2 separate regions of the Homo sapiens genome follow, and region 2 is linked to region 1. Evidence: promoter capture Hi-C in human tissues and cell types (Jung and others, 2019). All regions are on one chromosome and are shown on one strand. The core of a region is centred on a gene start or on the middle of the fragment in contact, and the rest is flanking DNA. Distances in the headings are between cores, read along the strand shown.

Region 1 (7,134 bases), core at 1,846-4,345:
GAAATTTAGCCCTGTGTTCTGTAACAGCCGACTACTGGGATGGCTCCTATAAATATTCAGACAAACGCAAAGTAAACAGATAAAGTAGAGAGTTAAATATACTTCAAAACCTCACCAAAAGGCAATTTGCCTTTACTTGTGTTCTGAGTATTCTGTCAATTCTTATACTTCAACTGAGCTCTAAAACTCCCTAAAAGTCACATCAAGTCTGACTTGTTAGTTTTTGCACACAGCCTCTTTCCTAAAAGAACACTTTCCCCAGGAGTCAAGGAAGTCATACATCACTGTTTTAATGAAATTCCTAGTAAAAAACATACAATTTCAATCCAAGTAAAAACGTATATTTGTGTTTTTCACAAAGATAACTAATAACTACCTGTTAATAATTTAGCCAGACACAGAGTCAGTGAGTTTACATTCACCAACCTATCTCCCTTCAGTAATCTTCTAGAAGAGCGTTTGTAGGCCACAGGGTGAAATCTCGTTAATTCACTGCACCCAGTCTAGCTTGTTTCTATACAACACAAGGAGGAGTGGTAGTTTCAGCAACAGCAACAGCTTCACCACATCAGTTTGTTATCATGTGGGAAGACAGAGGCTTACTGAAAGTTTGATTTTATAATAAACGGTTGCAGAATCAGATGGAAAACAAATTTCCCTCAAGCACACTGCAAACACTGCCTTAATCTCAGGGAACAGAGGAGTAATCTCAGTGAAGAGCCAACAGAATCTGCCTGCCACCAATAATGTACTAAAGCCACAAATTTCACAGCAATATCTAACCTTTATAATTAGCAAGCATACACCTAAATTATATAAAATATTCGAAGACCTAACACCATTTATCTCCTCAGATTTGAACACAAAATTGCTTATTAAACACGTAATTCTTGTCTGAAAAAATATAAGGATATTAACATTTTCTTGATGCTTCTTCACTGAAAGTATTAACAAATGACAAAGTGAGAACAATAGAAGTTAAAAATAATATGTCTACATTTCTTGGACAAAGATGTTCGGACAAGTAAATTAGACACTGGATATGAGTGAGGGAAAGAACTGAATGCATCAGGAATAATTTCATGTTTTCCATAGCAAAAATCCTTAGTTTTACTTTGCAATTCAAATATGAAAGCCAATCAGAGCTCTGGGAAGCCCTGAGAAGGCCAGCCCTCGACTACCTCTTGCCACACAGTACCAGGCTGAAAAGAGTGCCACGCTCTTAGGGTAAGTCCTTTCACTTCTATCATTAGACTCCCTTCAAGGATCTTACAGATACTCTTTGGATACAGTTTTGCCGGCCTTTTAAATGTTCTCTCTGTCTTCATATTTATTTATAAGGTGATAGTGACAAAATAATTCAGTGTCCTTAAATAGGCTCATTTAATAGGCTATGAAAGCCACAGATTTAAAGATACCTCTGTTTCACATTTCCCTGTTATTTTGGGATGCCTATTACCATGAAAAAGGATTTCCCACATTTACTTTCTTTCTGGGGAATTTGTTTGTTCAAAGAGAATTATATAACCACCAGTAAGTGCACTGCAAAAAAAAAAAAAGAGAGAGAGAAAGAAAACTTCTTTTTAACATTCCTCAGCTTCAGGATTATTTGATTTGCTAACCTGGCTCACCTTTTCCTGGCATTAAAGGAAAACTTTAAAATTTTAAAAAGAGCCCGACTGAAAGTCTTTTACACACTTGGGCAACACGCCCGCCTATGGGCACATGGGCAGGGTGAGTCAGTGGGACACAACTGTAACAGAAAAAAAGATTTGTTGTCCCCAAAGCTGCCTCCTTCAAGTCCAGTTGCCATAGCAGAAAGTGGGCCCATTCAGTAAGCAGGTGCAGGGCTCACCCCAACCCTCATTCCATTTGCAAGACTCATACACATTTGCTCCAGGCGAGCGAGCGAGTTCGAAGGTCCCCGGCGCGCCGCGCTGAAAACTACAAAGTCCACCGGGACTGCGCGCTACCCCGCGGCCCAGCCTGCACCGCTGGCCGGGATGAGCACGGCGCACCTGGCTCGGGGTCTGAATAATGAGCAGGGCTGCTCGTCCTGTTTGAGGGAAATTACTCTTTCTGAGAGTCAAATCCTGAATGTGACGTGTAATCCCTGCACGCAAGGTGTGGGGATAGCAAACAGAAACCGGGAGAGGTTTGGGCAAAAGCGGAATCGCGAAGACAGGGATGGGCCGCCAGACTCGCGGGTCCGCTACGGATGTCTGCGCCTCAGGCCTGGCCCCACTAGGACGCCCCTTCCACTGCCAGGGGAGACCCTGGAATAAAGGCAGGGAGGGAGAGCTGCTGCCATGAAACCCTCCGGGCAATCCGAACACCTTCCGAGAACGCGGGGCCCGGGCGGCTGCGAAGCCGGGGAGCCCTCCCCTCCACGCTGCCGGGAGAGCCGATCCTGGGGCTGCCGCCGAGGCCGGGAGAGGGAAGACTTGATGGGAACCGGCCAGGGGCAAGCCCGCAGGGAAGAGGCCGGAGTCAAAGGCCGGGCGTCCCCTCGCTCCCCGCTCCACCCCTACGGCAAACACTTGGGGGGCCTGAGGAAAGCTCGGAGCTGAGTGGGGGCTGTGCTGGCGGGGACCCCCATAAGGACGCCTGCATACAAACCACCCCGCGCGAAAAGTGCGCTCCGGCCCCGGCCCGACACGGTTACCTGGGCAACGACCCGGGTGCCCAAAGTACACAGCACGCACCACCACCCAACACCAGCACCCAACACCAGCACCGCACCACCTGCTCCACCACTACCACCAGCACCCGCTGGGGCGGCAGAGAGGGCGCCCTGCCCGGGAGCGCGCGGTGCGGACGCGGGCGTCCGAGCCCAGGGAAGCCCCCTCTCCACCCCGCCCGACCGCGGGGCCGCTTACCCGGTCGGGGGCTTGGCCGCCGAGGCGCGCGGCGCGTCCATGGTGCCGGGGGCCGGGACGCGGGCGGTGCTCCGGGCCCGCCGAGTCAGGCGCTGGCTACCGCCGCCACCGCTGCCGCCCTCATTCACTTTTTCCGCGCTGACCCATCGTCCTCCCACGCGGGCCGGCGGAGGACAGCGGCGGAGCGCGGCGGACGGAAGGGGCTGGAATCGTCTCTAGCGGGCGGGGGCGCCGGGAGCGCAGGGAGGGGCTGGCGGCGGCGCGGGGCGGGGGCGCCGGGAGCAAGGTGCGCCGCGCCCCCGCCCCGGCTGCTCTGCCGCGCCCACCGGAGCGCCGCCCCCGCCCCGCCCCGCCCCGCCTGCTCAGAGTCCCGACCCGGCCCGCGGCGAGCGTCCGGGGAAGGAATCCTCCGGCACCTGGGCCCTGCACCGACACCCGCGGGTGCGGCAGAGGGCTTCTCCCCGTGCTCCTCCACCCCTGGGGGGAGCGCGACCCTCTCTGGGCGGAGTGGGGGATCCCGGGGCCGGCGCCTCCTGGCGGAGTTGGGGGAGGGGAACCACCTGGAGCCTGGAGGCCGTGCGAGGGCGAGGTGGGCGGACCAGCCCGGGAGGACTGACGTTGGAGGGTGAGAAGTGAGTGTCCGGCACCGCTCTCTGACCTTTATCCGTGCAGCAAATGTCTAGTGCGTAGGGTCGCAAAGTGGGAGTCCCGACCGGGAGCGTCAGGAACACCTGGGAACTTGTTAGAAATGCAGATTTCTGGGGCCCACCAGGTCCCACGGAATCAGAAACAGTGCGGGCTGGAGCGCGGCCTCGCTTTGCTAACAACTCACTCGCTCTAGGTGAATGCTCGCTTAAGTTTGCCAACCTGATTCACTGGGCGCTACTGTGGCACAACCCTGCCACTCCAGTGCGGGCTGGCGGGCAGATATGCAGGTCCTGCCGGCCACGCCGGGGCCCAGAGCAAGTCAGCCAGAGGTCCCTTATCTGCCCAACTTCACCTCCACTCTCTAAGATCTTGGTTGGTATGATGGGCTGACCTATAAAAGTGGCAGTTTCATATGGTTTCAATGACTCGAATAAAAGACCAACAAGAGGCCAGATCGGGCGAGCCTGATAGCGTTGGGGGTGACGCTCCCCTTGCGATCTTGTCATTGGATGAGGTATCCAGAGGCCTGCGCAGCCTTCCTCCCTCTGATCCCCTGCTTTCTCATTAACTGAAGGGGGGGCAGACCAGTCTATATGCAAAATGTGAGTCCTTACTCGTGGCTGGCAGATCTTGGGTGCTCCCTGCTCCCACCTAGAAGGTTTCCTAAGTCCCCAGGTGGCCCTGGGGCTCACTTCCCTGCAGCCCAGCCTCCCATGAGTGGAGCGCTTTCCCGGCTCAGGGCCTCTGGCTGGGATGCTGCTCCACAGTGCTCTTCCTCCTCCTTTTCATCCCGTGGTCTCCCCAAGGAGCCTTTCCTGGCCTCTCTGTCTAAAAGCACCCTGCGGAGCACAGTGGCTTACACCTGTAACCTCAGCACTCAGGGAAGCCAAGGCCGGAGGAGCAGTTGAGCTCAGGAGTCGGAGACCAGCCTGTGCAACCTGGGAGAACTTTCTACAAAATAAAAAAATTAGCGGAGCATGGTGGCACACACCTGTAATCCCAGCTACGGGGCGGGGCGGCGAGTGGGGAGCAGGCTGGACAATGGAGTGAGATCCTGTCTTAAAACACAAAATAAAAGCAGCTCTCACTCAAGCTCCTGACTGCTGCCTTGTCCTAATTTTCTTCTGAGCATTTGTCACTGTATGTGTGTGTGTATGTGTGTATGTGTATATATATATGTGTGTGTGTATATGTGTATGTGTGTATATATGTGTGTGTTTATATTTAAATGTAAGTTTATAAAGAAATGTTTACATGTAATGTGTTATATTTATAGACATGTTTATATGAATGCATAAAATTTGTATTTATGTAAACTTATAAATATGTATATACATTATATATAAATGGAATAAAAAACATAAATAACATATCCTATTCCGCATATATTTTGCTCATGTGTTTGCCATTGGTCTCCTCCCTAGCATGTGATCTTAGCAAGCGCTGGGCCTTTGTCTGATTTATCACCCCCAGCATCTAGGGCAGTGCCTAGCAGGGTGGAGTCAGTGCTCAGTAAACAAAGGGTGCACTGAATGAATGAATCTCTTCTTGCACCTTGGGTGTGGGTATTAGAGAGTCTCTCCCAAAATCTGGGGAGCCCCTCCTTGCTCTGGACACCACCATGGGAAGGGCTGCCCAGGAGGGGCCAGAGCTGAAAACTAGACTAGGCACTGTGAGCCAGACCCCATTGAAATCCCTAAGGAGAAGTCCACCTCACAGGTGACACATACTCCAAGCACCTGGCAGAGGCAGCAAGAGGAAGTATGGTGGGGACATGGAGCAAAAGAAGCCCGGAGTGACCCAGTGTCTCAGATGCTGAGCACAGATGGCAACAGGAAGCCCGAAGCAGGTGGATGGTGAAGAGTAAGAGAGCTCCTCAACATCCAGAAAAACAATGAGAAGGAGGTGACGTGCCACCTCCAGGCCAAGATGCAACTTGCTGTTCTAGGAAAAAGGCCCAGGTGACCCTAGGCCTGGACAACCTCAGATCCTTGGAAGGCCCCCAGACATCTACTCAGAAACCCAACAGGGACCAGTTTCCAGAAATGAAGTGGAGGGTTAAGCCTGGTTAGAGCTGTCAGGATGAGACACAGAGTAAAGGTCAGACTTCTGCCAGAGGGAGGAGCTTCACGCTGTGACCCAGGGCCTGCAATCTAAATGGGCCAGGACTGCCGATCACTTGTGTCAACTGTGGGGAGGGGCACAGAGCCTGGGGGGGCAGGCGGGGCCTAGGACCTGATCAGATTCTGTGCATATTGCCACCCACACTTCCCTGACTGATAAGGGCCCCAAGAGATGCAACTGTGGGGAGTTGTTTTCCAAAATTGTATAGTTCAACAGATATTTCTGAGCATCTACTGTATGCCAGCCTTTGTCTGCGGTGTGGATGTGGCCACCTCATAGGGAGGGCTAGGCAAGGAAATCAGTAACAGACAGGGCTGAGCTCTTCCAGACAGACAGTGAGAAAGAGGAATAGGTGATGGGCTGAAAGCAAAGGGCTGAGTGGGGCCTTGTAGAGGATGTCACCAAGATCAGCCTACCACTTGTCACTGAGCAGAACGCACTCCTTCCTGTGCTTACTGACTTCAGCAGAGCAAATGGCACAATCACACGCTAGGGAAACTCAAAGGGAAAGGTGTTCTTTATGGACTCTTTCCTGCACATGCTTTTAAATGTCCTTATTAAAACTGTCACTTTTTTTTTTTTTTTTTTGAGAGGGAGTCGTTCTGTTGCCCAGGCTGGAGTGCGATGGCGCAATCTCGGCTCACTGCAACCTCCACCTCTCATGTTCTAGCGATTCTCCTGCCTCAGCCTCTCAAGTAGCCAGGATTACAGGCGCCTGCCACCACGCCCGGCTAATTTTTTGTATTTTTATTAGAGATGGGGTTTCACCCTGTTGGCCAGGCTGATCTCAAACTCCTGACCTCAAGTGATCTGCCCACCTCAGCCTCCCAAAGTGCTGAGATTACAGGCATGAGCAACCACACTCAGCCACTTTTTCAGATGTCGACCATCACTAAATCATCTATATTTTATAGTGTGGCAAACATCCAGGGATGTGCTGATAAATGCTTACAAATGATATTTTTAAATTTTTTTAAAAAGAGCCCCTATTTGTAGCATTTGCCAGTTTTTGTAGTGTAAACGCACCTTGGCAGATTTCAAGCTAGGGTGTTGTAAAGTCACTGAACAGGGAGTTACAGAAGATGCAGCAAGACCGCAACTCTCCATGATTTGCCTTCCCACATGCGTGAAAGCAGAACCTTTGCCCCTTCATCCACAGAGCATGGCTGAGTGCTGCTCTTTGTCCCAGGACACCATGCTTGTGTCCTGATATGGGCTGTAATGGGTGCCCTTGGCTATAGCTCTGGACTACAGTGGCATCAGCTCTTGCCCCAAGCAGTAGGAGCTACCCTGAGACCAGGGTGTAAGGCTACTTGAAGGACATTCTCTCCTTGGTCTAACCCCATCCCCCTTCTTTGCTCCTAACTCTCCTCCCAGGCACACCTGGGGTCTCAACAGCCCCCATCGGCGTACACTCAGCTCTCCATGACTCGAGGTGGGTGCCTGCAGTCACACCAGCTGCTCTTTCTGGAGGGAAAATGAA
Region 2 (7,134 bases), core at 2,374-4,873, 42 kb before region 1:
GGAGAGGAAACTGAAAAAGACTGAGGAGGGAAAAAACTCATCAGTTTCAGGATTCTGCACTCAGATTTTAATCACAATTATTTGCATGCTCTTAGCTGGCTTTAAAGAAACTGAAACCAGTCGGACACAGTGGCTCACACCTGTAATCCCAACACTTTGGAAGACCGAGGCAGGAGGATCACTTGAGGTCAGGAGTTCTAAGACCAGTTTGGCCAACATGGTGAAACCCCATATCTATGAAAAATACAAAAATTATGGGCATGGTGGCGTGTGCCTGTAATCCCAGCTACTCGGGAGGCTGAGGCAGGAGAATCGCTTGAACCCAGGAGACAGAGGCTACAGTGAGCCAAGATCGTATCACTGCACTCCAGTCTGGGTGACAGAGCAAGACTGTCTCAATATAAATAAATAAATAAACAAACAAACTGAAACAATGAATTCTGGACATGGCCCTCTATCAAAAGATTGCTCAATACATGTAAATGCATATTTTTTAAGCATTTAACATTTTAAACTCACTCATTTAACTAAGTGAGCAATCTTCAGTGCCAATCAGGGCACATAAATGGTTTCTACTATTGCATGCTTCAGTTCCCTCCGCTCCCTGTTGTTTCATACAAGTACACCCCACTCAAGGTATGATTTTTTTCCAGTAGGCTAGATTTTATCCCCATTTTGCAGATTATAACATTGAGCTTGGGTTTTAATAACTTCGCAAGGTCTCACAATTCATAGTGTATGTTTCATCCCAGGCAGTCCGATTCCAAGAGGCAATCCTCATCAACTACTCTATTATACTCACTCCAGGGAAGCCAGAACTACAAAATAGTTAAAATTAGAAGAATCATCAGTATTTATCTCCCTATTTATCACTCCATCATGGGCGACGCAAGAAAAAAATCATTTAAATTTGGAGCTTTAAAAAGGAAAATTCAGAATATTGGGAACATGCACACTCAGGAAAGAGACTAATCCATGGCTCTTCAAGTTCCAATCTAGATCTGAAAATATCAGTGAAATTGCGCTTGGACCTCTAAAACACTCAAAGAGGCAAAGGGTTGCACAAATTGGACACACAGGGCCTGAGGCATTTCTTCAAATGATGTTTTTCTGGCATTTCCACACCAAAGCTTGTACTTTGGGAGTCTCCCCATGTCTAAATTAAAGCCCAAGACAAGCCATTGGGCTAAGACATGTAATTCACAATTCTAGGGTCACAATTCTGCTCTTATCTGCAGGTAAAGACAACTTAATACTACACAAGTCCAGTCATTTCTCCCCCTCTCTATGTCTGCGTTTTCATCTATGGAACACAATACCAACAACAACAACAACAACAACAACAACAACAACAACAAAAACATCCTTCTCTTAAGGAATAAAAGTCAAATAATAGGGCATTGAAAAGTTACCTCAAAGCCAGGCGCAGTGGCTCATGCCTATAATCCCAGCACTTTGGGAGGCCAAGGTAGGAGGATCACTTGAGGTCAGGAGTTCAGGATCAGCCTGGCCAACATGGTGAAACCCCACCTCTACTAAAAATACAAAAATCAGCCGGGCATGGTGGCACATGCCTGTAATCCCAGCTACTTGGGAGGCTGAGGCAGGAGAATCGCTTGAACCTGGAGGCAGAGGTTGCAGTGAGCTGAGATCGTGCCACTGCACTCCAGCCTGGGCAACAGAATAAGACTCCATCTCAAAAAAAAAAAAAAAAAAAGAAAAAGAAAAGAAAGTTATCTCAAAATACAAAGCTGCATACTTTGTGAATTTTTAATGTATATTCTAGCTTGTTACAAAGGTTATGTGTGGTGAACAGTAGCTACCACTATCTAAAATTCCTCATTTACCAAAAAACAAAAACAAACCCATATCTGCAGTGACATTCCTAAGGAAGTCATCATTGACATCAGGGAATGAAGCCTTGAAGCTGACTTACCTTGTGACACCTGCTTCTGCCGTTAGACTGAAAATTAGTCCTCAATCATCAGCTCTTGCCTGTCTGAGTGACTGGACAGCTACATCTGCAGCATATTTATAGCAGCTGGATCTATCTGGCATTTAAAACTCAAGATTCTAAAAATGAATGACAAGTTCTACCAGAGAGACAAACTAATTTTACCTATTTGAAAATAGCTAACTTGCCTAAATTGTTCAATAATTAAATACAATTCCCAAAATACTTAAACACTTCAGTGTTTTGGGAATGCCAACGCCTCATAAAACCTATTTTAGGTGTTTATATTTTGAAGTGTCATCGAACCGCCACAGTTCACGTACCCAGTGCTGTTTTCTCTGGTGACGCCAACTCCCCCTGTAGCAGTTGGGTCCCCCTCACCCATCAAATGCGATCTTCTTCAGTCATCTGTTCTGGGCTCTCCTCCCTTCCCTGTAATGCTCTCCTTAGACCACAGGACATCGTAGCCTCGAATACCACCATGCTCACAGTTCCCCCCAGTCCATGCCTTAAGTGAGGCCCTCGCTCCCCTTCCCCAGCACAGGACCTGCAGCTGCCAGCTGTGCATCGCATGGGCCGCCTCCCGCTTCACTCCCCACACGGTAGACACACAGCACTTCAAACTCACACCCAGCCTTGCTGCAACGCCTTCCCTCCCAAACACACCTTCCCTCCCAAACACACTGCACATGACCCTCACTGCTCGCAGGAGAAGAGCACCCTGTCCTTTGTCCTCCAGTGCTGACTGTATCACCGCCAAAATCTTGAATGTGTCCTCCTGGGCATGGTCCTGAGGCAGCTCTAGGTGAGCTCCCCTTCATCTGTTTGTCTCATCAACACAACAGGCTCCTGACTGCATTCCACTTCTTAGTCTTTGCTTTCAAAGAAACCAGCCAAGCTGACCATTCATTATCCATGAAAGAAGGAAAGAATTGTACCCCACAGAATGGATGTCTGGTGCTGGGCAGAGAAGACCACTTTTTCACAGATGCAGTGACTTTACTATGGAAGGCTGAGCCTCAGGAGCTCAGCTGAAATACTCTAGCCCATCATTAAGCACACTTTTGTGCGTAGGCTCAAAATGTCCTTTCCTATTTGTGCAGTGGAGGATTTTCATTCAATAAATGACTTTCATATGAAAACTCCAAGTTCAGGGATGCCATGCCTTGTACAACAGACGTATTCTAGAAAACAACAGTGTAAGTATTAATTTTTGTAAACCAGTCATGTTTTAAAATATAAGATAGAAGATCAGCATTTGGGAATCTGAGATACTTTCAGGGTTTTCTGAGATACTTTCAGTAAAAAGAATTCTCTGATAGCAATCATTTGATTTGATTTTTAGGTCTGCATATGTACGCACATGGCTTTGTCTGAAGTGGGAAACACCGATATTAACAAATTAAAATACAAATCATCTGGCCGTGCAATTCAACTCTTTGCTGCCTGAACCTCCATCTTCCAGGGAGACAGAGCAGTGAGAAGCAACAAAGACAGGGCTGAAGAGGACGGGAGAGGCTCAGGACAGGTGAGGGACGCACGTGGAGCCGCTCCATGTTTGTTCTGCTCTGCACATGAGAGAGAGGGGTCACCCCTGCGGGCTGGAGGGGAGAGGCCCAAGGGCTGGCTGTGGAGGGGACAGTTGCACAGTGTCCAGGCTGCCCTCCTGCAAAGGACCTGAGGGAGAGGCAAGAACAAGGCTGATTTGTATCCAAATTTTGAGGCACAAGTCCCCTCCATCCTCCTGGTTTTTTCCCTCTGCCAGTAATGCTGTGCGAAATTGAAGAAAGTTCTATGTCAAGGTTCAGTACTCCCTTTTTACAACGAGGATTTGTTTTTGATTGCTGGGGAACCACTGCCTCCAGTTCTGTCTGACAGGGCCTGGCTGTTCTGAGATCCCAGCTCCACGGCCACATGTGGTCACCGCAGCCCATGCAGAGCAGGTCTGGGGGGAATTCTCCCCTGGGTCTCTCTCAAGGCACCCTCAGCAACAGTGCACTCCAGCTCCACCTGCCACCACCACCACCGCCACTGGCATCAGCTGCCACCAGCCACCACCAGCCGCCACCAACCACCACCAGCCGCCACCAGCCACCACCAGCCGTGACTGCTCTTGTGAGCTCCGCACGCAGCCCACCCAGGAGGCCTGTCCCAACAACGGTGAAAACACAGAGCCCAGAAGGCTGGCGATTCCACCTTCCCCTCACAGTGGAAAATCAAGGCCCCTGTCTCCATGCTGATTGATGAGAATGTTTCCACAGCCTGATTAGGGGCTGTAGGCCTCTCTCTCCCCTGCTTGTTTTCTTTTCCTCTGACCTGCTCTGCCGGGGTTTTGTGAGGTTGTCTGTTTTAATAAAGAAGCCCTTATCTTCCTTATATTTACTCTTCAATGGAAATGAGCCTCATCCTTTTTCCTACAAAAGCCCTTTGGCTTTTCTAAATGATAAACATTGGGGGAAGAATTGTTTGAAGAAACAAATATCAAGCTCATAAATGAAAATGTGCACTGAGGCTCTGGGACCATGCAACTTCTTCTGTTTACAATAACACAGGAATTCTAAGGAGCCCATTTTAATTGGCATTCACAGATATGGGCTGGGTGACAGCACTCATGCACAGCACATTTTGAAGCTGTTCTCAGACATTTCTTAATCCATGAGTAACTGTTTCAGGGAGGCTGGGGACTGTCGTGGCAGTAAAAGGCAGCAGCACCAAGAGCTATGTAAGTTGGTCCTGCTGTGGCTTCCTGGGAGCCCTGTCCTGGGGTTCCTTCTGGGAAAGGCGAATGGAACCTGAGCTTCTATGAAAGGAGTCACCCTGTGGAAGCTCCTCCGGCCGGGGACGGGCCATACCCAGGGACTGCACACAGGTGGCCTTGCCTGCCACAAGCCCTATCCACTGTGGGCTTTCTTGCTTTTCAGGCTTTTCCTTCCCCTCTTGATAATGCCAGTCCTTGTCATTTATCGTTCAAACCTTCCACAAGCTTTAAGGAACACCTCCAACCCGCCAGGGACTGCACAAGGTGTGGGGGATGAAAGGAGACACAGACACAACCCACTGCCCGCAGTAAACACTGCCAGGGCTGAGCTGGGGTGGCTGGGAGCTGCAGCTGTGTGGGGCAAAGGGGAGATGTGAACAGGCCTTGCAGAGTGAGCAGGCAGGTAAGAAGGAAGACACCTCCAGGAGATGGGAGGAAAACCCAAGGGCATTCTGGAAAGCTGGACGCTGGTGTTGGCTGGCCCTTAAGGGTGCCTGGGCCCAGAAAGGGAAGAGTTCAGAGGTGGCTTTTACCATACAAGGGAGAGGAGTCAGCTGAGGCTCATAAGATTTGACCAGCTAAGAGGTGAAATGTAGGAGAGGGCACCACAGAAAAGGAGATGCATCTGGGAGCAGCGAACACACAGATGGTGAGGGCCAGAAGACAATGACACAGCCCTCCTGTCCTCACACCAGCTCCACTGAGGCCCCATCATCAACCTCTACCAAAGCAGCACCTGGAGGAAAGGATCACAGGCCAGTCATCCTTCCCAGAGCCAGGCCAGGGATGCTCATTGCCAAGGCACAGAACAAGGCCTTCCCTGTTTCCATGACGGCCACACATGCGCAGGGACCCAAGCCAATGACCGACTAAGTTAAAATGGGCTAGGTCTGCTCTCACGGAAGCCTGAGGGTGAGTTCATGAATATGTGTGCCTTGCTCTAAGAGAGAAGGTATGTGTGTGCATCTGTGTGTGTGCATGTGTGCATGCAGAAGTGTAAATACACACATGTGCTTGTGAGGGAAGGAGAGAGAGAATAGAGCAAACACACCTGTTAACATCTGTGGCATCTAGCTGAAGACGACGTGGGAATTCTTTGTTATTCCAAAATAAAAAGTTAAAAAATATATCTTTAAAAATTGACGACAGGACTGTTGAGCACACAGTGGTAATCTCTCTCTGATACTTCAGCTCACACGCAGCAAGAGTCGGTGCCCTCATCCCGCCCACCCGACTTTGGGCTAATTCATGGTGTGTATATTAGACACTAACAAATAGCAAGTTGGACAGCGGGCTAGAGGAAGGGATGGACGGGCTGCTAGAGAGATACAAGGGTGGAATACTCTGCCCATTGTAGTTTCTACACTGCCAAATGGAGGTGGTAACAATGCCGCCCCTACAGTGTTGCTACAGGGATCCAGCACGGCAGGGCATTGTGAGAGCAGGGGGCACAGAGCCAGGTAAGAACACTCAAGAGGCACAGCAGATGGACAGACAAGTCATGTCACTTGTAGCCCAGACTCTCTAAATACTTTCTGACCACCCAACAATATTCCCAAGCTGCCTCTGAGGAACTAGCAAGTAAGAGAGGACATATCTGTCAACATCATAGGGCAGATTCATTTCGTTATTTACTGATCTCTTCTCTGTGCCTGCGTGAAGTACAGCAGAGAGACACAACAAATCAACAGCGGGCCCCTAGGGACGTCTCAACTACAATCATCTCTCTGAATCATATCTCTGAACTAAAAACATAGTGGCCAGCCTTGAGTGCCAGCTCTGCAAATACTAGAACGCAATACCCGTATCAAATGATAAATAAATTTAGAAGCTCCACATTCACAGAGACTCCCACACACATGCACACCAAACAGGGTGAATCTAATCTGGAGATTAGCTGAATTGAGAAGCCGTCCCAAGGAAGAGCATGCTCAGTGAGAGCCCAGAGCCAGGTGGACAAGGCACCCTCATCTATGATCATGCAGGCCCCTCCTCCCAGCTGCCTGGGGAGACAAGCATGCTATATTTAGACAGGATCTTTTTTTTTTTTTTTTTTTGAGACACAGTCTCACTCTGTCGCCAGGCTGGAGTGCAATGGCGCGATCTCGGCTCACTGCAACCTCTGCCTCCCATGTTCTAAGTAATTCTCCTGCCTCATCCTCCCAAGTAGCTGGGATTACAGGCGTGTGCCACCACGCCCAGCTAATTTTGTATTTTTATTAGAGTCGGGGTTTCACCATGTTGGCCAGGCTGGTCTCGAACTCCTGACCTCAGGTGATCTACCCACCTCAGCCTCCCAAAGTGCTGGGATTACAGGCGTGAGCCACGGCACCTGGCCTAGACAGGTTCTTGACTCAAGCCTCCAAATCCAGGCAGTGATAGACCAGCCCCACCATGTGCCCTTCTACCAAAAGCAAAAATA

The links. Contacts are between HindIII fragments. The study calls those that stand out against the background at their distance.
Region 2: a fragment that was not itself captured here is called in contact with the fragment with the promoter of COBL in region 1 in 3 of the 25 tissues and cell types used here (dorsolateral prefrontal cortex, hippocampus and liver).

What each region holds. Positions count from the first base shown.
Region 1 is chr7:51,313,714-51,320,847 of GRCh38, forward strand. It overlaps COBL (cordon-bleu WH2 repeat protein), which reads right to left and starts at 3,096. Exons shown (of 13, transcript NM_015198.5): 1 at 2,880-3,096. The coding sequence starts at 2,920. LOC124901633 (a long non-coding RNA gene) reads left to right here and starts at 3,271. Exons shown (of 2, transcript XR_007060324.1): 1 at 3,271-3,511; 2 at 4,334-4,619. RefSeq lists enhancers at 3,354-3,947, 3,948-4,540. The HindIII fragment of the contact is 18,220 bases long and covers 1-7,134 here.
Region 2 is chr7:51,271,630-51,278,763 of GRCh38, forward strand. The region is part of intron 1 of COBL (cordon-bleu WH2 repeat protein); the gene reads right to left. Among named protein-coding and RNA genes, the nearest start is that of COBL, 42 kb to the right of the region's middle. RefSeq lists enhancers at 2,039-2,540, 2,541-3,040, 3,476-4,472. The HindIII fragment of the contact is 6,486 bases long and covers 381-6,866 here.